Regions from separate parts of the Homo sapiens genome. Here all the other regions are linked to region 1. The links are contacts of gene promoters, found by promoter capture Hi-C in blood cells and fetal thymus (Javierre and others, 2016). All regions are on one chromosome and are shown on one strand. The core of a region is centred on a gene start or on the middle of the fragment in contact, and the rest is flanking DNA. Distances in the headings are between cores, read along the strand shown.

The links. The method cuts DNA at HindIII sites, captures the fragments that hold promoters and counts their contacts. A CHiCAGO score of 5 or more calls a contact.
Region 2: a contact is called between a fragment that was not itself captured here and the fragment with the promoter of SDAD1 in region 1, in 1 of 17 cell types (monocytes). The highest score is 7.7, in monocytes.
Region 3: a contact is called between a fragment that was not itself captured here and the fragment with the promoter of SDAD1 in region 1, in 1 of 17 cell types (non-activated CD4 T cells). The highest score is 5.5, in non-activated CD4 T cells.
Region 4: a fragment that was not itself captured here is called in contact with the fragment with the promoter of SDAD1 in region 1 in 1 of 17 cell types (fetal thymus); the score reaches 6.2 in fetal thymus.
Region 5: a fragment that was not itself captured here is called in contact with the fragment with the promoter of SDAD1 in region 1 in 4 of 17 cell types (total CD8 T cells, activated CD4 T cells, fetal thymus and 1 more); the score reaches 8.1 in total CD8 T cells.
Region 6: a contact is called between a fragment that was not itself captured here and the fragment with the promoter of SDAD1 in region 1, in 1 of 17 cell types (total CD8 T cells). The highest score is 5.9, in total CD8 T cells.
Region 7: a contact is called between a fragment that was not itself captured here and the fragment with the promoter of SDAD1 in region 1, in 1 of 17 cell types (fetal thymus). The highest score is 5.3, in fetal thymus.

What each region holds. Positions count from the first base shown.
Region 1 is chr4:75,989,632-75,992,331 of GRCh38, reverse strand. It overlaps SDAD1 (SDA1 domain containing 1), which reads left to right and starts at 1,387. Exons shown (of 22, transcript NM_018115.4): 1 at 1,387-1,580. The coding sequence starts at 1,491. All of the region lies in intron 1 of SDAD1-AS1 (SDAD1 antisense RNA 1), which reads right to left. The HindIII fragment of the contact is 958 bases long and covers 559-1,516 here.
Region 2 is chr4:77,856,838-77,859,537 of GRCh38, reverse strand. No RefSeq gene overlaps it. Among named protein-coding and RNA genes, the nearest start is that of MRPL1, 4.6 kb to the left of the region's middle. The HindIII fragment of the contact is 3,300 bases long and covers 1-2,700 here.
Region 3 is chr4:77,060,052-77,062,751 of GRCh38, reverse strand. All of the region lies in intron 2 of CCNI (cyclin I), which reads left to right. Among named protein-coding and RNA genes, the nearest start is that of CCNI, 15 kb to the left of the region's middle. The HindIII fragment of the contact is 3,762 bases long and covers 1-2,700 here.
Region 4 is chr4:77,191,099-77,193,798 of GRCh38, reverse strand. LOC107986292 (a long non-coding RNA gene) reads right to left here. Exons shown (of 4, transcript XR_001741742.1): 4 at 1,226-1,588. Among named protein-coding and RNA genes, the nearest start is that of CCNG2, 35 kb to the right of the region's middle. The HindIII fragment of the contact is 2,729 bases long and covers 67-2,700 here.
Region 5 is chr4:77,080,921-77,083,620 of GRCh38, reverse strand. It overlaps the pseudogene RPL7P17. Among named protein-coding and RNA genes, the nearest start is that of CCNI, 6.3 kb to the right of the region's middle. The HindIII fragment of the contact is 2,097 bases long and covers 292-2,388 here.
Region 6 is chr4:77,161,318-77,164,017 of GRCh38, reverse strand. It overlaps CCNG2 (cyclin G2), which reads right to left. Exons shown (of 8, transcript NM_004354.3): 5 at 2,460-2,538; 6 at 2,271-2,369. Among named protein-coding and RNA genes, the nearest start is that of CCNG2, 5.5 kb to the right of the region's middle. The HindIII fragment of the contact is 2,457 bases long and covers 40-2,496 here.
Region 7 is chr4:76,995,303-76,998,002 of GRCh38, reverse strand. It overlaps SEPTIN11 (septin 11), which reads right to left. Exons shown (of 10, transcript NM_018243.4): 2 at 1,464-1,578. Among named protein-coding and RNA genes, the nearest start is that of SEPTIN11, 47 kb to the right of the region's middle. The HindIII fragment of the contact is 1,273 bases long and covers 669-1,941 here.

The DNA of each region.
Region 1 (2,700 bases), core at 138-2,637:
GCAGCTGAATAACATGGTTTGTGAAGCATTCTTTATTTTGTGTGCAGGTGTGATTACAGAGTTGTTTTGTTTGGGGCTCATTTTATCATCGTCACAGATGAGGTTGGCGTTCTATAAAATTGCTTTGGTTAAGCAGAACCCTATTGTCTGGCTATTTTGCCAGACCAGCAACCAGCTACCAGCTGTTAGGCTATGTTTTTTCTCATGTAGTTACAATCAAGACTGTCTAGATTGAAATCTCATCTTCCTCACAGGCTATGAATTGAGGCAGTCAACTTCCCTGAGCTTGTTTCCTCTTCTGTAAAATGTAGATAACAATAGCACCTATTTTAGAGGGTTGTTCTGAGGATTAAATAAGTTAATACAAGTGCTTGGAATAGTGCCTGGCACAGGGTGGGTAATTAGGTTTTTTTTTCTCTCTCTCTAATTCACAACACCCTACCTCATTCATTCAACCCTTATTGATTTTTTACACCTTGAGATTGTAGAAATGTATTCTCCTCTTCGAATTACCAGGATCTGAATTAAAAACTCTGACTGAGGAGTGCTTACAAAGCTTATAACGATGGTTGAATTTTAACGATTAATTGCATTTATTAATGGTCAACATGATCACATTTTATCCAGCCCTCTTTTCCCTTGTATGGGTCACGCTAAGTTGAAACAACCAAAACCAAAATAAAAACATATCTAAAATCATACACATTAACTTATATGACCCTCGTTGCTCTTTTTTCCTCCTAAGAGGGAATAGTGTTATCTAGCGCCACGGTTCTTTTCAGTTTTGTTTTGTTTTGTTTTGTTTTTTATACGGAGTTTCGCTCTTGTTGCCCAGGCTGGAGTGAAATGGTGCAATCTCGGCTTACCGCAATCTCCGCCTCCTGTGTTCAAGCGATTCTCCTGCCTCAGCCTCCCTAGTAGCTGGGATTACAGGCATGCGCCACCACGCTCGACTAATTTTGTAATTTTAGTAGAGACGGGGTTTCTCCATGTGGATCAGGCCGGTCTCGAACTCCCGACCTCAGGCCCGCCTTGGCCTCCCAAAGTGCTGGGATTACAGGCGTCAGTTTCTAATTTTAGACTGCGGGATTAAAAATAAACGATTAATCCTCATTTATGTGCTTCATATGGGTGTCGGAATGACGATACATGCTAACACACGTGAAAAAATTTACATTTCAGATCCTTTCAGAAACGCAAGGCAATATTAAGTAGTAGCATATGCCCAAGGGCGAGGGGCGGGTCGGCGGTGGCTGGCTCTCCAATACACCACAGAGTATTTTGGCAACGAGAGTAATTTTGACACTCTGAGGCTTCCGTAGCATAGCTCGCTTTAGGAACCGCTAAGGTGTCGCCTGCCTAGAGTCCCATGCGCTATTTCCGGTCATACCCGGAAACACGAGTCCAAGCTGCAGCTGGCAGGGATTGCGGGGTGCCGGCCGTCTGAGTTTTTTTAAAACTGCTCGCCGCGAAGTCTGTCTGCAGCCAAAATGTCCAACAGAAACAACAACAAGCTTCCCAGCAACCTGCCGCAGTTACAGAATCTAATCAAGCGAGACCCGCCGGCCTACATCGAGGAGGTGGGAGTGCGGCGCGGCAGACGCTAGAGGCCGGATAGTGGATGGTTGAGACGCCGGTGCGGGAAAGCATGGAGTGGGGCTGGGATCCAGGCTCGCCGCCTATTCTTCTGTTAGGTTCAGGGGTCCCTCCAGAGGAGAGAAGGGGTTGGGGACGGGACATGCCTTAGGGTTCGTTCCCCACCTCTTGAAAATCTGTTGCCCCTTTGGATTTTCTACCTGCCCTGCTGCCGCTGAAACACCTTTAAAACCTCATTTTGTTTTAAGATATTTTTCTTCGTCCGCACGGAAGTGGAGAGAGAAATGGGCCGCACCCAACCACCAACTTCCACGCGGATTTCTCAGCCTCTTTTCAGAAATCCCAAACTTGAATTAGTCGGTAACCTTTGATGAATCGTATGTTAGAATGCTTTCGATTGACGTCCGTTTCTGAGAGCAGGCTGTGTACCCTGGACTGTGCCAGGAAAGGGGGGGGGGGGGTTTCTCAAGCACAACGGACAGACTCGGGAGCTTAGTATATTTAGTTAAGCCAGGATTCAAACTTACCGGAGACTGGCATGACTCGGATGTCAGAATTTGCTTCGGGAAAAGATTAGGTTGAAAAATTAGGCCCTCATTGTGATGGGCTTTGTGTACTGACCTCATGTAAGTTGTGAACATTAGGGGTGTTTGAACCAAGTACCGACAAAACGAAAGTGGTTTTTGATATATTAATCTGACAGGTGCTTCCTTCAGACACTCATTTATCAGACGGGCATTAAACAGGTATCTCTGCTAGGCATTTGCTGCAATTACATGTTTGTGCTTCTACCAGATTGTGATTTGTTCAGTGGCTAACACAATTACTTATTTTTTCATTGCCCTTCTCACTTCCCTCCTCCCCTAAATTTTCACATATATGTATTTTATGAGTGCTTTTTAACACATGGCAATCTCAGTGGCTTAGGTCACCAGTAGAGAAAGCCTCTCCAAGGATCAAGGTAGTGGAAATAAAGAGTAGGAAACAAGTACAAGAAGTTAAGTAACATAGGCAAGGCTTTGAGATGCTTAAAGCATTGTATAGCCATTCGCAAAGAAAGTGGTAAGTTGAGAGTCTATATAATTCCGTTAGATAACTCCTGCT
Region 2 (2,700 bases), core at 4-2,503, 1.9 Mb before region 1:
TAGACTGTATTATGGACTTAAAATTCACTTTAAAATGCAACTTTTGATTTCTAGGAAGATTTATACTTTCCAGGAGTCTTGGCAAAATGCCAGCTGCCAGCCTGCTTGGCTAATTTCCCTGGGAAAAGCTAATAAATATTTGTCTAGCCCTGTAACTTACTTGATCTGTGTTCTCTGCCTTCTTCAGCCATCTTCCAGTTGAGTTGGAAACTTCTTTGCAAGAAGTGTCACTTCCCTTTGGGGTTCAAGTTGAAAATGGATTCTCGGCCGGGCGTGGTGGCTCACGCCTGTAATCCCAGCATTTGGTAGGCCGAGGCGGGTGGATCACCTGACGTCAGGAGTTCGGGACTAGCCTGACCGACATGGAGAAACCCTGTCTCTACTAAAAAAATACAAAATTAGCCAGGCGTGGTGGTGCATGACTGTAATCCCAGCTACATGGGAGGCTGAGGCAGGAGAATCGCTTGAACCCAGGGGGCAGAGGTTGCCGTGAGCCAAGATCGCGCCATTGCACTCCAGCCTGGGCAACAAGAGTGAAACTCCATCTCAAAATAAAAAGAAAAAAGAAAATGGATTCTCTTATTAGACAAAAATAAGGAACTCCAAGACATTTCCTATTTCAGTAATGTGCATCAGAATCACTCAGAAGGCTTGTTAAACTCAGGTTGCTGGGCCCCACCCCCAGAGCTTCTGATCCAGTAGGTCTGAGATGGGGCCTGTGAGTATAATAAATTCTCAGGAGATACTGATTTACTGGCCCAGTGACCGTACTTTCAAAACTACTCCCTATGTAATACCATGAAATATTTGCATTTATACCCAATGTTAACTTGGGGAGGAGCTGTTGTTTTGTTTAAAATTTTTATGGTCAATATAATATAGACTATAAACGTTCCTCATGGGATATGTCTCCAGAACCAGAATCTACCCAGTCTTATTTTCTTCCTCTCTACATACAAACTGCTATTCTATGCCTGGGTTTCAACTCCAAACTGTCCACCTGCCAGCTGAGAAAATTTCCAATGCCTGTCTGTCTGCCTATCTGGGTCTTAAGTATTACCAACTCCTAGATTCCCTTTCCCCCTTGTGCTTACTTCGGAATCAGATCTTTTTTTCCCATGAAGAAATGTCTATCTAGGAAAATGTTTTTTTAGTCACAAGGCTGAAAGTTCAGTAAGTGGCAGACTGGAACTCATTTTGTCTTGTCCCCCACACGTGACAGTTTTTATGTCCAAAAGCCCCCAGGAGATTTGTTTAATAGTAGATTGATTTAGGAGATTTAGAACTGTCCAGTGGTGTGTTGGTAAAAGTTTAACAACTGGTTCTCCAGTATAAAAGAAATGAATTTGTACCATTTGTCAATTTCCATGGTGTAAATACTCCCACAAGTAGGTGACTTCAAGCCACCAAACATAAAATCAACCAACTCAAAATTTCTGACAATTTATCAATTGGTTCTTGCATAGCTACAACATACTACTAGAAGATTTCAAGTGCAAGTCTTCAGTAATTTTTAGGAGGCCTAAACCAAACCAATTCATCCTAGAGCCATAATTAAACTTTAATGTGAATTCAAATCACCTGGAAATCTTATTAAAATGTAGATTCTGATTTGGTAGGCCTAGGATGGGGCTTGAGATTCTGATTTCTTTTTTTTCTTTTTTTGAGACGAAGTCTCTCTCTTGTCCCCCAGGCTGGAGTGCAGTGGCGTGATCTTGGCTCACTGTAACCTCCACCTCCCGGGTTCAAGTGATTCTCCTGCCTCAGCCGCCCAAGGAGCTGGGATTACAGGCGCCTGCCACTACGCCCGGCTAATTTTTGTATTGTTAGTAGAGATGGGGTTTCACAATGTTGGCCAGGCTGGTCTCGAACTCCTGACCTCAGGCAATCCACCCGCCTCGGCCTCCCAAAGTGCTGGGATTACAGGCATGAGCCACCACGCCCGGCCTCTGATTTCTAACAGGCTCCTAACAGTGATGTTGATGCTGCTGGTTCGCAGACCACCCTTTGAGTAGCAAGGTCCTAGAGCATATTTGAGAGCAAAACTCACATACCTATCATTAATCCCAAACCAGAACCTTTTAAATAGGCTCCTTCTAATACAGGGAATAGAATAAGTTTAAGTAGATTCACAAATTTCTGGGAGTAAACTCCATTGCCTCCATCTTTCAGCGTCTTTCAATAGAGATACTAAAAATACCATTAGCTTCCTGCCCCACCCACATCTGCTTCTGGTAGAAACTGCCTCCTCTCACATAAATAAAATTCCCCAGCCCAGGATATTTGGATCAGTGGAAGCCATCTGACCCAAGGAAAGCCCACCCATACATGGCCAGTGACCTGCCTTGAAAAGAAAAACTAGATCAATTATTCCTCTCACAAAACCAAAGTTGGGAAAATGAAAGACTGAAACACTCAGGTGGGAAAATTCAAGCTCCAGGGTCATAGAATAAATTCCATGCTAGAACGGCCTTGAAAGGCAATCTGAAACTATTAGGGAACAGAAATGACGAGTGAGTGAAGTTACAGGAAGCCAGTGAGTTGCAATAATATAAGGGAATAAGGATGGCAAGAAAAGCAGAGATACCGCAAGAAAGAAAGAAATCAAGCAGCCTATGAGAGAAAGATAGCAAATGCTGCCTCAGTTCCTGTTAAAGTTTCCAACAAGCCTGCTGTATCTCTATCCCTTTCCCTGCATTC
Region 3 (2,700 bases), core at 123-2,622, 1.1 Mb before region 1:
TTGATTTACAAAGATAAAACCCTGCCACAAATTGTTGATATACAGATGATTTTCAGTAGAATTTTAGAACTCTAAGGAATCTTAAAAAGAGGTTGTTAACAGCTTTTCTAGTCATTCTCAACTGGAGTTTAGATTTGCTGCTTCCTACTTCATCAAAGCCAAAAGGAAAAATTTAATTTTTTTTTTTTTTCTGAGACAGGGTCTTGCTCTGTTGCCCAGGCTGGGGTGCAGTGGCTCCATCACAGTTCACTACAGCCTCTATTTCCCAGGCTCAAGTGATCCTCCCACCTCAGCCTCCCAAGTAGCTGAGGTAACAGGCACGCACCACCATGCCTAATTTTTTTATTTGTGGAGATGAAGTCTCACTGTGTTACCCAGGCTAGTTTCAAACTCCTGGGCTCAAGCAGTTTTCCTGCCTTGGCCCCCTACAGTACTGGGATTACAATTGTGAGCCATGCCCAGAAATTTAATTTTTAAAAAAATGTTGAACGTTTAACAGGTGTAATGAGATGCTGTGGGAACATAGGAAGGTACTCAGCCCAACTTGAATTATCAGGAAAAGTATCTGGCGGGGAGTAACATCAAAATAGCTCTCAAGAGATACATAATAAGGCAGGTGAGAGAGAAGGGAGTGCGTTCCAGTCAGTAGGAGCAATATGAACAAAGGAGCAGTAACGTAAAATACCAGGGGCAAGGAAGGATCATCAGTAGAAGTTACTATTACAGCATGAAGTTTAAGACAGAAAGTGATGGAAGATGTCCGAGGTTAGAGAGGTAGGTCATAGCCGGGCATGGTGGCTTGCACCTGTAATCTCAACACTTTGGGAGGCCGAGGCGGGTGGATCACAAGGTCAGGAGATCGAGACTATCCTGGCTAACATGGTGAAACCCCGTCTCTACTAAAAATACAAAAAATTAGCTGGGTGTGGTGGCGGGTGCCTGTAGTCCCAGCTACCCAGGAGGCTGAGGCAGGAGAATGGTGTGAACCTGGGAGGCGGAGCTTGCAGTTAGCCAAGATTGCGCCACTGCACTCCAGCCTGGGTGACAGAGCAAGACTGTCTCAAAAACAAAAAACAAAAACAACAACAACAAAGAAGAGGTAGGTCATAGATTTGTATGCCATGCTGGGGAATTGTACTTAATCTTTTAGGTAATGGTGAACCTTTTAGAGTTTAAAGCTGGGGAGGTTGTATATTTTAAGGAGAAGACTAGCAGCATGTGGAATATAATATATATACAGAATATATATTAATAGCAGTCTATATTTTACCATGTTTGATCAATCCATTATAAATTCTCTTTAGGATTATTTGTTCAACTACTGAATCCTTCTAATCCTATTTAAGCAGTCCATATGAGAAACAGTTCACCTGATGGAATCAGGAAATACTGTTTTGGGCTTTTTCTTTTTCTCTCTCATTCTTTATTTTAGAGGAATAGGAATGAAATGAATTAGGCGCAGAACTTACTATTTGTAATGCTGTCATGATGATATTACTGTTTAGTACATATTTGAATTGATTTGAAAAAGTGACCTTAGACTCAGTATTACTTCAGTTAAATTGAGTCTTCTTAAACTGTTATCTTTTGGATTTTAAAAAAATTATTGCTGGTTTTGGCTAGTGATGATAACATTGGCTATGCAGGAATGCTTTTCTTGGCCCTGTTGTTAAATTTTACTATCTGGTATATGGGCCAAACATAGTGGCTTACACCTGTAATCCCAACACTTTGGGAGGCCGAGGTGGGAGGATTACTTGAGCCTGGGAGTTGAAGACCAGCCTGGGTAACATAGTGAGACCTCGTCTCTACAAAAAAGTAAAATTAGGCCGGGCGCAGTGGCTCACGTCTGTAATCCCAGCACTTTGGGAGGCTGAGATGGGTAGATCACTTGAGGTCAGGGATTTGAGACCAGCCTGGCCAACATGGCGAAACCCCATCTCTACTAAAAATACAAAAATTAGCCAGGCGTGATGGCACAAGCCTGTAATCCCAGCTACTTGGGAGGCTGAGGCAGGGAGAATTGCTTGAACCTAGGAGGCGGAGGCTGCAGTGAACTGAGATTGAACCACTGCACTCCAGCCTGGGTGACAGAGCGAGACTCCATCTCAAAAAAAAAAAAAAAATTAGCCGGGCCTGGTGGCACGTACCTCTGGTCCTAGCTACTTCAGGATGCTGAGGTGGGAGGATCACTTGGGGCTGGGAGGTCGAGGCTGCAGTGTGCCATGGTTGTGCCACTGTACTCCAGCCTGGGTGACAGAGCAAGACCCTGTCTCAAAAAGTATATGGAATATTAAAGTTCAAAGATATTGTCATGATTTCTTTCATGACTAATTGTTAACAGTGTTTAAAATAACTTCATAGATAATGTTTTGTAAATTTGTTTTTCTGACATTATTAGAGAATTGGGTAGTTTAGAGGTGGGAAAGGAGAACTAATATTTGAGTACGTTTGCATTCCATATATATGCTTTACATTAGTTATGTCATTTAGTTATAACTATATGATAATCTCCATATAACTGTATTCTCTTTTTTTGTATGTTACCTTTGTGATTCTTCTTACAATTGTATGTTTCTGTTATTGTTTAATGCCAAACACCAAATAGTGACATTATTTAATGTAATCTGTCATTCAGGGATTTTTTTTTTTCTCCCATACCCCACATTGTATCTCTAACTGAAGGTTAGAGTTAATGGT
Region 4 (2,700 bases), core at 182-2,681, 1.2 Mb before region 1:
TGGTCCTTTCCACCCACCCCTCCAGCCACCAGAGAACTTCTTAGTACCTCGCAGGCCTACAAAGCTTTGGAAGAAACCCCGCCCGACCAACCCCAAACCATCCACCAGCGGAACAACCCACAGCCCCGCCAGGCTTCCTCGCCTTTTACACTTGAAGCCACGCCTTCCCCCTGGGTGAGGACCAATGAGAAAGCGTAGGAGCTACTTCAACTCCGCAATTGGTCCCAGACGGCTGCCAGGTGAAACCAAGCCTCTGGACGCCCCAGGGCTTTCTCTTGGGGCTTCCTACTTTAGACAGGCATTTCTCCCCTCCACCCGCTTTTTTTTTTTAACTACATTGTAAAGGCTGTTGAGTATTTTGAGAGAATAATTTAGAGTCACCTTCAAAAAGTGGCTGAATCAATTTCCCTTCCAGCACTTAGACAACATGGAAGATGTTTAGTGTGCCCTAAAGAATTTCAGAAGAAATATGAGTAGCTATTTGGTCAGACACTGGTGTTGAACACAAATATCCTTACCGTCAGACAACGCTGGTATTTCTCATCGCTCACCTGTGCGTGTTATGCATTTATTCGTTCATTCACAAGTATTATTGAGGAGGATGACTCAATGGAAGCAAGGAAGTAACCCAGTGAGGCTTTGGGTTTTGTCTGTGCTTCGCAAACGGCGGGCTAGAAAGTATGAGTATCCTCAGGACTCACATGTTTCTGGAAAGTCATTCCACTTGTACATTTGGGGATAAAAAGATTTATTTTATATTAAGACAATAGTAATCCAAACCAATATAAATAAATGAATGGGAAAAGAGATAAATCTTTCTTGCAGAAAAAGTTCAAATAATATATGTAACTCCCCACTCCAGGAGGTGGAGTTTAATCACCACACCCGTTCCTTGAGTCTGAGCAAGTTTTAGAGAATCCCTTCCAAAGAACAGAGTAGACGAAGGGAAAAGTAATAACTGTATAGTACAGAAACCTCAGCCGGGCGCGGTGGCTCACGCCTGTAATCCCAGCACTTTAGGAGGCCTACGTGGGCGGATCACGAGGTCAGGAGATTGAGATCATCCTGGTCAACACGGTGAAACCCCGTCTCTACTAAAAATACAAAAAATTAGCCGGGCATGGTGGCGGGCCCCTGTAGTCCCAGCTACTCGGGAGGCTGAGGCAAGAGAAAGGCGTGAACCCGGGAGGCGGAGCTTGCAGTTAGCCACGATCGCGCCACTGCAGTCCAGCCTGGGCGATAGAGCAAGACTCCATCTCAAAAAAAGAAACCTCGCAGGCACTATCTTAACCAAGTGATCCAGATTAATATGATCAAAGATAAACCATGTTGCTATTATGTACCCCCTGATATGATGAGAAGAGCACTTCGCTCCCATGGTATGCTTCTTCAAACCCCATACCCCTAACATAATCATAAGAAAAACATCAAAGTCAAACTGACAGCCATTCTACAAAATGCTGACCAGTAATCTTCAAAACAGTTAATCAAGGTTATGGAAATAAAGAAAGACTGAGAAAGTATTACATACCAGAAGACACTATAGAGACGTGATGAGTAAGTTCAATGTCATACCCTGGATGGGATTCTGGAACAACAACAACAAAAAAATCTATATTAGTGAAAAAAAAAAACTGGTGAAATCCAAATAAGTTTGGAGTTCTTAGCAATATACGAATGTTAATCTTTTCGTTTTGACAAATGTACTGTGGTTACATTAGATGTTAACATTAGGGGAAACTAGGTGAAGAGAATATGTTATTCACTTTACTATCCCTCAATTTTTATGTAAATCTAAAATCATTCCTAGATAAAACATTGATTTAAAATTTAAAAAAAGGAAATACATTGTAAAATTTGCATGAAATCTTAAGAAAACATGAGCCTTCAAAGAAATCTTATGCTTATCACAGACTGCTTTAAACTCTACCTTCCCCAGAGTTTCCAGAGGCACTTATCCATTATTAGAGGTATTTAGAGCAAAAGTTTTTGAAAAGCTGCAAGTTTAGCTACATGAATCCCATTGGAGGATAGATGTGAGGATGAAAAGAAGAGAAGCTGAGAGGCCAGCTGGAATCACACTGAGATCTAACCAAGTCTAAGGCAATAGGTCAATGGACAATGAGACACAAATTGACCTAGTTTATTCCTGCGACTGTCACCAGTGCTTTCCGGGAATTTACTGATGCTAGTCCCCTTCTTTCATCTTGAGTGTTCACATACTTGTAGTCAGGAGAAAGGAGATAGATACTCTTCCTTTAGGGTAGCCAGATAGAATCAACAAAATTGCCAAACATGCTGGAGAAGAACTGTTTAAAAAAACCTTTCGGCCGGGTGCGGTGGCTCACGCCTGTAATGCCAACACCTTGGGAGGCCAAGGGGAGTGGATCACTTGAGGCCAGGAGTTGGAGACCAGCCATAGGCAACATGGTGAAACCCCGTCTCTACTAAAAATACAAAAAAAATTAGCCGGTCATGGTGGCAGGCGCCTGTAGTCCCAGCTACTTGGGAGGCTGAGGCAGGAGAATTGCTTGAACCCAGGAGGTTCAAGCAGTGAACTGAGATCATGCCATTGCACTCCAGCCTGGGCAACAGAGCGAGCGAGACTCCATTAAAATAAAAAAAAAAAAAAAGACAAAAAACTTTCTCAAAAATTTAAAACACCTACTATGGAAGACTGGGTAAATAGTGGTCAAGAAC
Region 5 (2,700 bases), core at 91-2,590, 1.1 Mb before region 1:
GCTCCTCTTAATGAAGCATGAAACCAATGATCCCTTCTGGTGAGACTTTCCTAAATCACTCCTTAAATATGAGAAACCTAAAGCTAGTTTATATTGAGTGTTGGCCCAAGTTTAGAAAGCAGCTTGAGGCTGCAGCAGAGCCGCGCGGGAAGTGCGGCGCCATCACTAGAGCGGAAGCTGTAGGTGCGTTGTGGGAAGCACTTTATTGTCCAAAGCCAAACCGCCAGTGTGATGAAACTAACCTACAAGAAAAGGGCTGGGTTTTGTAAATGACACAGGCTCTAAAAAGCTTGGAAGCACTGCAACTTTTGGCAGGAATCAGGGTTAGCAGGACCTCAGTGTCTCAATGCTGCTAAGTGCAGGCTGGCTCTCTGGGTCCTCCAGCGTGAGCTAGAACTGATGTCTCTATGGTCAAGTAAACAGAGTGAGTGCTGTCTTCCCCATGTGGTGGGGTTGTGCCAGATCAGTAGCTGCTACACTAGAAAGACGGTGGATCAAGGGCAAAGAAAAATCCCTTTGGTTCCAGAAAATCTCCTGAAAAAGGTGAAGGCTTATCAAGCCCTCAAAGCCACCCAGGCAAAGCAGGCACTTTTGGCAAAGAAGGAGCAAAGGAAAAGAGCTCAGGTTTAAGCGACTGGAATCATTCCAACATGATTCCTGGTGGCAGAAACATGACAAGCTGCTTCTCAGACAACTAGAAGTGAAACCTCATGCCTTGGAATTGCCAGATGAACATTCCTTGGCCTTTGTTGTGTGCATCAAAAGGATTGATGGTGTGAGTTTACTGGGGCAGAGAACCATTGCAAGACTTCGCCTAAAGAAAATTTTTAATGGTGTCTTTGTAAAAGCCACCCCCAAGAACCTAAAAATGCTGCGTATAGTGGAACCTTATGTGACCTAGGGATTTCCAAATCTGAAGTCTGTCCAGGAATTTTGAATTTTGAAACGTGGACAAGCCAAGGTCAAGAATAAGACCATCTCTCTGACAGAAAACACAGTGATTGAGGAGCACCTGGGGAAGTTTGGTGTCATTTGCTTGGAAGACCTCATTCATGAAACTGCCTTCCCAGGGAAGCATTTCCAGGAGAGCTCATGGTTCTTGTGCCCTTTCCACCACTCAGTGGCCCGTCATGCTACCAAAAATAGAGTGGGCTTCCTCAAGGAGATGGGCACAGCTGGCTATCAGGGTGAATGCATCAATCAGCTCATCCGCCAGCTGAACCAGACCCAGGTGCCAAATGGCAGTAAATTTTTGTCAATGAAGTGGAAGCATGTGTTTTTGCTTTTTTGGAAATTTTTATCAAGTATCTTCAGAGAAGATTATTTCCTGCCTTATCTTCAAACACTGGAAAGGAAGGGTCAGAGACAGTAGCTGGCCGGAACAGTGGTTCACGCCTGTAATCCCAGCACTTTGGGAGGCTGAGGTGGGAGGATCACCTGAGGTCGGGAGTTCGAGACCAGCCTGACCAACATGGAGAAACCCTGTCCCTACTAAAAATACAAAAATTAGCTGGGCATGGTGGCACATGCCTGTAATCCCAGCTACTCGGGAGGCTGAGGCAAGAGAATCGCTTGAACCCGGGAGGCAGAGGTTGTGGTGAGCTGAGATCACGCCATTGCACTCCAGCCTGGGCAACAAGAGTGAAACTCTGTCTCAAAAAAAAAAAAAAAAAAGAAAACAAAAGACAGTAGCTTAGGTTCATGGCAAGCACCTCTCATCACAGTCCAGTTCCAAGGAAAAATTTCAGCGTTTTCTACATTGGCTGTCGCCTCATCTGAAATCAGCATATTCCATGGAAGAAGGAGTCCTGCTTTTGTTGCATCTTCTATCCTAAGGTTTAATGTTGGTAAATGAGTAACTCTAGCATTTGTACAAGGTTCCCTAAGACTCCTGCAGCAGTCGACCAAGCCCAGGGACACAATTGAATCTGGAGATTCCTGGGGCCTTGTTTTGAAAAAGACTTGAAATACACATAGGAAGAAAGGCACAAAAATAAATGTTCACTTGTCTCTTAAAAAAAAAAAAAAAGGCAGCTTGAGGCTTCCTTGACTTATTCCCTCTGAGCACTTTCCCCACTTAATATTAAGGAGGAGGTCTTTATATTATTTGGTGAATGGGGACTTTTTTTTCTCTTAATATCTTGATGCCAAGTTGGTTTGGGACATTTACTCCTCTTACATTCTATCTCTGTATAGATAAATGAAAAATATTTTAGAAGTTGTTAAAAGAATCCTAAAGTGTGGGCAGATGCTAAGTGATTATGACAGTAAATAATTTCCTTTGTTCTTGTAGGCTTTAACATCTCTCCTACAAGATAGTACCTTCATAAATTGTCTTGTGGAAACATTATCTAAAAATTTCATTTAGGACAAAGGAGAATAGAAGCTTCTGTCATTAAACATGAAACAGCCTTGCTTTCTTTACTCCTAAAAATGTAGGCAGTATTTCTAGAAATATTTAATGATAGCGAACCACTTCCTGGCCATCAATTTGATTCCCTTCCATTTTCCTAGACTTCTGAAGAGGTCTCACTTTACACTATTTTGCATTACAGAACAGTCTTTATACTTCCTTTTTTTTTTTTTTGACACAGGATGTCACTCTGTCGCCAATGCTGGAGTGCAGTGGCGCTATCTCAGCTCATTGCAACCTCCGCCTCCCAGGTTCAAACGATTCTCCTGACTCAGCCTCCAGAGTAG
Region 6 (2,700 bases), core at 19-2,518, 1.2 Mb before region 1:
TAAGTATAAAACTACATAGGATTCAATACACAGAAAGCTTTGCCTATTCTAAGAAAACACTGACCTAAAAACACTCTGGGTCTGTTAATAAATCAGCTATCAAGTATAGTCCTTAGTCTCAATGCAAAGGAATTTAACATTCCTTTTGTTACAGAAACCAATTTGGGTTCCTGCAACAAGGCATTGTTTGGATTGCTGGTAATACACACTTATAACACCAGATACAAAACTAAAGAAGTTAGTGATATGAGAGAACAGGAATTTCCCAAAAAGGACATAGTTCCGCCACCACTGGGCAGTGCTCCAGTTTATTTCTTTTTTGTTTTTCTTTTTACGTATTTTTTTCCCTCCTCCTTCGGAATGCCTTCAGTTTATTTCAACGAATCAATTTTCACTGAAGATGGTTCCAGCTATCACTATCAATAAAAAGTTCAGATAAAAACTAATAAAATCATAACTAAAGCAAAAAGTTATCTGTTACAAACAAAATGCTTCACATGCACATATTTTCACCAGAAAACAGAAGATCTATTTTCTTGGCTTCCCATTTTCACCTAATGTAGCTACATCCTAACCCACTTGTAATCTGGTTTCTACCACTTCCTTCTCACTGCTCTACTGACATTACCTCTGACACACCCAATGACCTTCAATTTTCATTATATTGGATCTCTTATAAAAATTCAATACTCCTGACCACCTCCTTAAAAACCTCCTTCCAGTCTGACAGTGCTTCTACTTGTGGGGATGTACCTTTCTTCACTTGGCTCCTAATGTTGGGGGGAAAGGCCAACGCTGAAAACCCCAGAGCTTCAACTGACCCCTACAAAAAGGATTCCACAGCTTCTTACCGTTTCAACTACTGCTTCTTCATGAGAAATTCCAAACCTCAATCTCTAACTATAGTTTATCTTCTTATTCCAAAACGCCAAACACCTACTAGACACCCACCTGTGTACACAAGCATCTAAAATCATATTGCTCTCATCACAAATTAACTTCTCCCAAATTTCCTGCCAATTATGCTAATATTATATCCACCATTAGGTACAAATCTTGGTCATTCAAGACTCCTTGCCTCATTTCCATGCTTGGCTTCCAAAACCACTGTTTGAGTTGGACAGCCTTACTCCTGCTTGTGACTACCACCTAGACATTGTACCTGTAAGTCTACCCTAAAATGACTTTTATATCTGTCTAGTCCACCAATTTCTTGGCCGTTAAGCCTTCGCTGAAACTTTCACTGTCAAAGATTCTTTTGCTCCAAACAGGCTCCCAGTCATAGTGTTTCTCCTAGTCTGCCCTATTTCTTTGCTTAAAAAAAACCCAAAGTAAGCCGGGCACAGTGGCTCACGCCTGTAATCCCAGCACTTTGGGAGGCCAAGGCAGGTGGGATCACTTGAAGTCAGGAGTTCAAGACCGGCCTGGCCAACATGGCGAAACCCCATCTCTACCAAAAATATAAAAATTAGCCTGGCATGGTGGTGAGCACCTGTAGCCCCAGCTACTCGGGAGGTTGACGCAGGAGAATCACTTGAACCCGAGAGGCTGAGGTTGCGGTGAGCCAAGATCATGCCACTGCACTCTAGCTTGGGCAACAGAGCAAGACTGTCTCAAAAAAAAAAAAAAAAAAAAAAAAAATCCCAAAGTACTCTCTATATTCACTATTACCTGGCACCAAGACACAATAACAAATGACAGAACACACCACTTCATGTTAAGTTCCTCATTTCCCCAACTAGACTGAGAGTTTAAGAAAAAGTATTGTGCTTTTGTTTTATATCTCTTTGTGATGGTAAGACTTACTTTTACTTAGCTGGCCTAAAGGATTTGAAAAGACATTCGGGTTTAAAACATCAACATTGCTGGTGTTAATTGATGCTGCTGCTAATGGGATGACAGTTCAGTCCTACAGGTGTGATGGGATCCCATCCTATCCCATTAGTGTTTGTTCTGAGTCTACTACCTAGTATGCATTTCAGAACAATGCATATGTGGCAATGTAACAGCTGTACTATCATATGGCATGATTACTACAGAAGGGGCACCTATATGCAGAAAGAAGCTGAGCTAAGTGACCAGGTTCCCTTCCGGATTAATACTGTCTGGGTCAAAGCTGCATTTTGAGAACTTTAACACTAGAGATATAAGAAAAAAAACAAGTGTAAAAGTTAAGAGTCCCATAAAGTATTACTTAATGTTTAAGTCACCACAGAAAAAAATAAACATCAGGAAAAAAATTTGCCTTAAAGAATAATGACTGTAATTACCTTGGAATGTTTTTTAACTAGCAAGAGAATTTCCAGTAATTCAACAGATTTCAAAGTTTCCACTTCCAAATTGAGAAGGCACAAGGCTAATACAGATGGCTGTAAGAAAAAAGAAAAAAAAGAAAAATATTTTTTAAAAATTCAAAATACAAACTGTGAGATATATACATAAGCAAGGAATCGACTTACTTTTGCTTTTGAAAAGATGAGTCGGCAGTTGCAAGCTTTCAGCTGAGCTTCTAGTTTATCAAGGCTCAGTATTTCTTTCCTATACAATGCAAAGAACAAAGATTTATTAAACTTCCAAAGATTTAAATGATTTTAAATGATTTTAAATATTTGCCAGGGCCAGACGCGGTGTCTCACGCCTGTAATCCCACCACTTTGGAAGGCAGAAGCAGGTGGATCACCTAAGGTCAGGAGTTCGAGA
Region 7 (2,700 bases), core at 56-2,555, 1.0 Mb before region 1:
CCCAGTTAAACCAGGATCCCACCAGAAGGCTTTCCCCTACCGTCCCCTGCAGGAGCCAGGACAGAACTCTCAGACATGTTCTTAGAGCTGATTTTGGAGACAGGGCTGGGGAGGCACTGAAGAGAAGCCAGAATAGTAATTGGCCTGCGATTACAATTTAGCATACTTTTCAATAGAAACCCAACAAATTGCCAACAAATTGCTATGCTAATGAAGAATTGCCCTGCTCTGCAATGAGCATTTATCATGAGAGAAAGGACAACCCATTCACGCCACTCTGTAGAACTAGCTGCCATTCGGGAGGTCTCCTGCTGAATTTTAAAAGGCTTCACGTAGGGAAAAGGGGAAAGCATGAGATGAGAGTTGGCTGTGTTCTCTCCAGTCTTTCTCTTATCCAGTGCTTAAGATACAATGCCAGGGAGCAAGTTGGTGTAGCGTGCCTGCCAATTGTGGCTTTCTACTAATGAATGCCCAGCACAGAGGCTACATGCAGTAGAGTCATCAAGAAGTTCAAGAAGTTTTTAAAAAAGAAAAATATCTGCACTCCCCCCAACTTCCATAACTGACAAATAAGCAAATGGTGGTTCTCACATTGAACACACACCTTTTCTAAATTCTCTTTGCTTTACTTGGACAAGAAAAGTAAGTCTGACACATTCTGCCAAGCTTAGGGAAAAGACAGTCCACTTGGCTACATACAGAATTCTTTGATCTGTCTCAAAGTGATGTCTCAGAGGGAAATGCCCAGAGGACAATGCCAACAGATCAACACAGCCCAAACCACTTCACTGCTGTTTCACCTGCCATTCATCAGGCGTGATGGGGAGAGAGAGGAACAGCCATCTGTTCCACACACACTTCTCCTTCAAACTAACAGGAAATTTATATTTTGATTTTCTTTATCCCCCTTCCTTTCCACCTTCCTCTTCTTAGTCCAAAAAGGATATGGCATACAAAAAATTAGCTGGGCATGGTGGCTACTGTAATCCCAGCTACTCAGGAGGCTGAGGCAGGAGAATTGCTTGAACCTGGGAGGCAGAGGTTGCAGTGAGCCAAGATCGCCCCACTGCACTCCAGCCTGGGCAACAGGGCAAGACTCCTCAAAAAAAAAAAAAAAAAGATATGGCTAGAGGGGTGAAGAAAAATACCAAGGCAGAGGCCTAGTCCAAAGTAAAATGTTTAAGGGATCTTAACAATATTGTAATGATCAGTTGCTTAACTGTGTGACAGAAATACTAATAGTAATTTGAGTAACATGACAAAACATACAACGCATTTACCTAAATACAGCTCTCAATCTTTATAACTTGTGACATGTATAAGGCAGATATTTTGCCTTGTTTTACTGATGAAAGAAAGAGAATAAACATGTCATTCTTATTTCACTGAAGCATGTCTCTCCGACAGTTACCTGTCAATATCTAAGGATCAAATTTCTTGCTGTGGGGTGATGAATAACTTACCAACACAAAGGATGTTGAAACAGAATCCTTGAGAAGTAGACTTGTTGACCAGCTGGTCAGGGAGGCTGTCAAATCCCACATGGCCAGACAAAGACAAGTTTCGAAGCTCTTCATTCTGCAATTTCAGGGGAGAAAGATTTGAGTGTCCATGAACCATGCCACCTGGATATCACATATCACAAACATTACATTCTTTCTTCTTCTTCCCTTGACATACATGGAAAAAGGAGACCCTCCACAGCTGCCTTGGCTTCTACACAGCTGAGGGCACTAACAACTCCAAAGCCAAGCTCTTTCCACAAAAGTCACAGTCTCCCAAAGCAGACCATCTCCCTGAGCATCTCATTCCTTGTTACAAGTGTACTGGTCCAGGGAAATTTGAGCTTCTAGAGGTGACTATTTCAGATATGCATTAAGTGACCAAAAAAACACAAAAACCTCCAGTCATTTTGATCACTTTCATTATTCAAGAAAAGCTTTCAATTTACTGTCAACTCATAGTGAAAAAATATTTAACACTCTTCCAGATACATAAAAGAACTTTGAAAAGCTCACAGTGGAGGATTCATACTCCTTACAATGATGACAATGCTCTACCTACCATAAATGCAGCATATTTAAAACTTCTCAGCACATGAGCTGGTTTCCTCTCCTCCATTAGTTTTACAGGTTTCTTGAGTCTTCTTCCCCCTCTTCACCCTGTAGCTCCTAGCACAGGCTCTGTAACTGCTGGAGTTTTGCAGAGTTTACCGATGTAGACTAGGGTAAGGTAGTTATCATACATTTTAAAATCACATAGGATATGGCTGGAAGCTAAAGTAAAATCACTGGGTGATTTATGCTGTTATATAAAATGGTACTGGCTGCCCCCACAACTTTGAATGCATCCCGTGGGTGTTGGAGATAATCTGTGAAACCTTTTTTTCTCAAGATGCAGAGATCAGCTACAGTCCCTCAGTTATAATATCATGGTTATGGTTTGCAATTTCAGAAATTAGACACTGAAAGTCTTCTCCTTGGAGACAGGACTCCTAGTGTTCTGGCTGTGTTGTCAATGAACTTTATATTCAAAATACTGGAGTCCAGGTGAGAAAATGATCCTCAAAGCTCCATTTTTATTTTTATTATTTATTATTTTTATTTTTATTATTTATTTTTTGAGATGGAGTCTCACTCTGTCGCCAGGTTGGAGTGTAGTGGCACGATCTCAGCTCACTGCAACCTCTGCCTCCTAGGT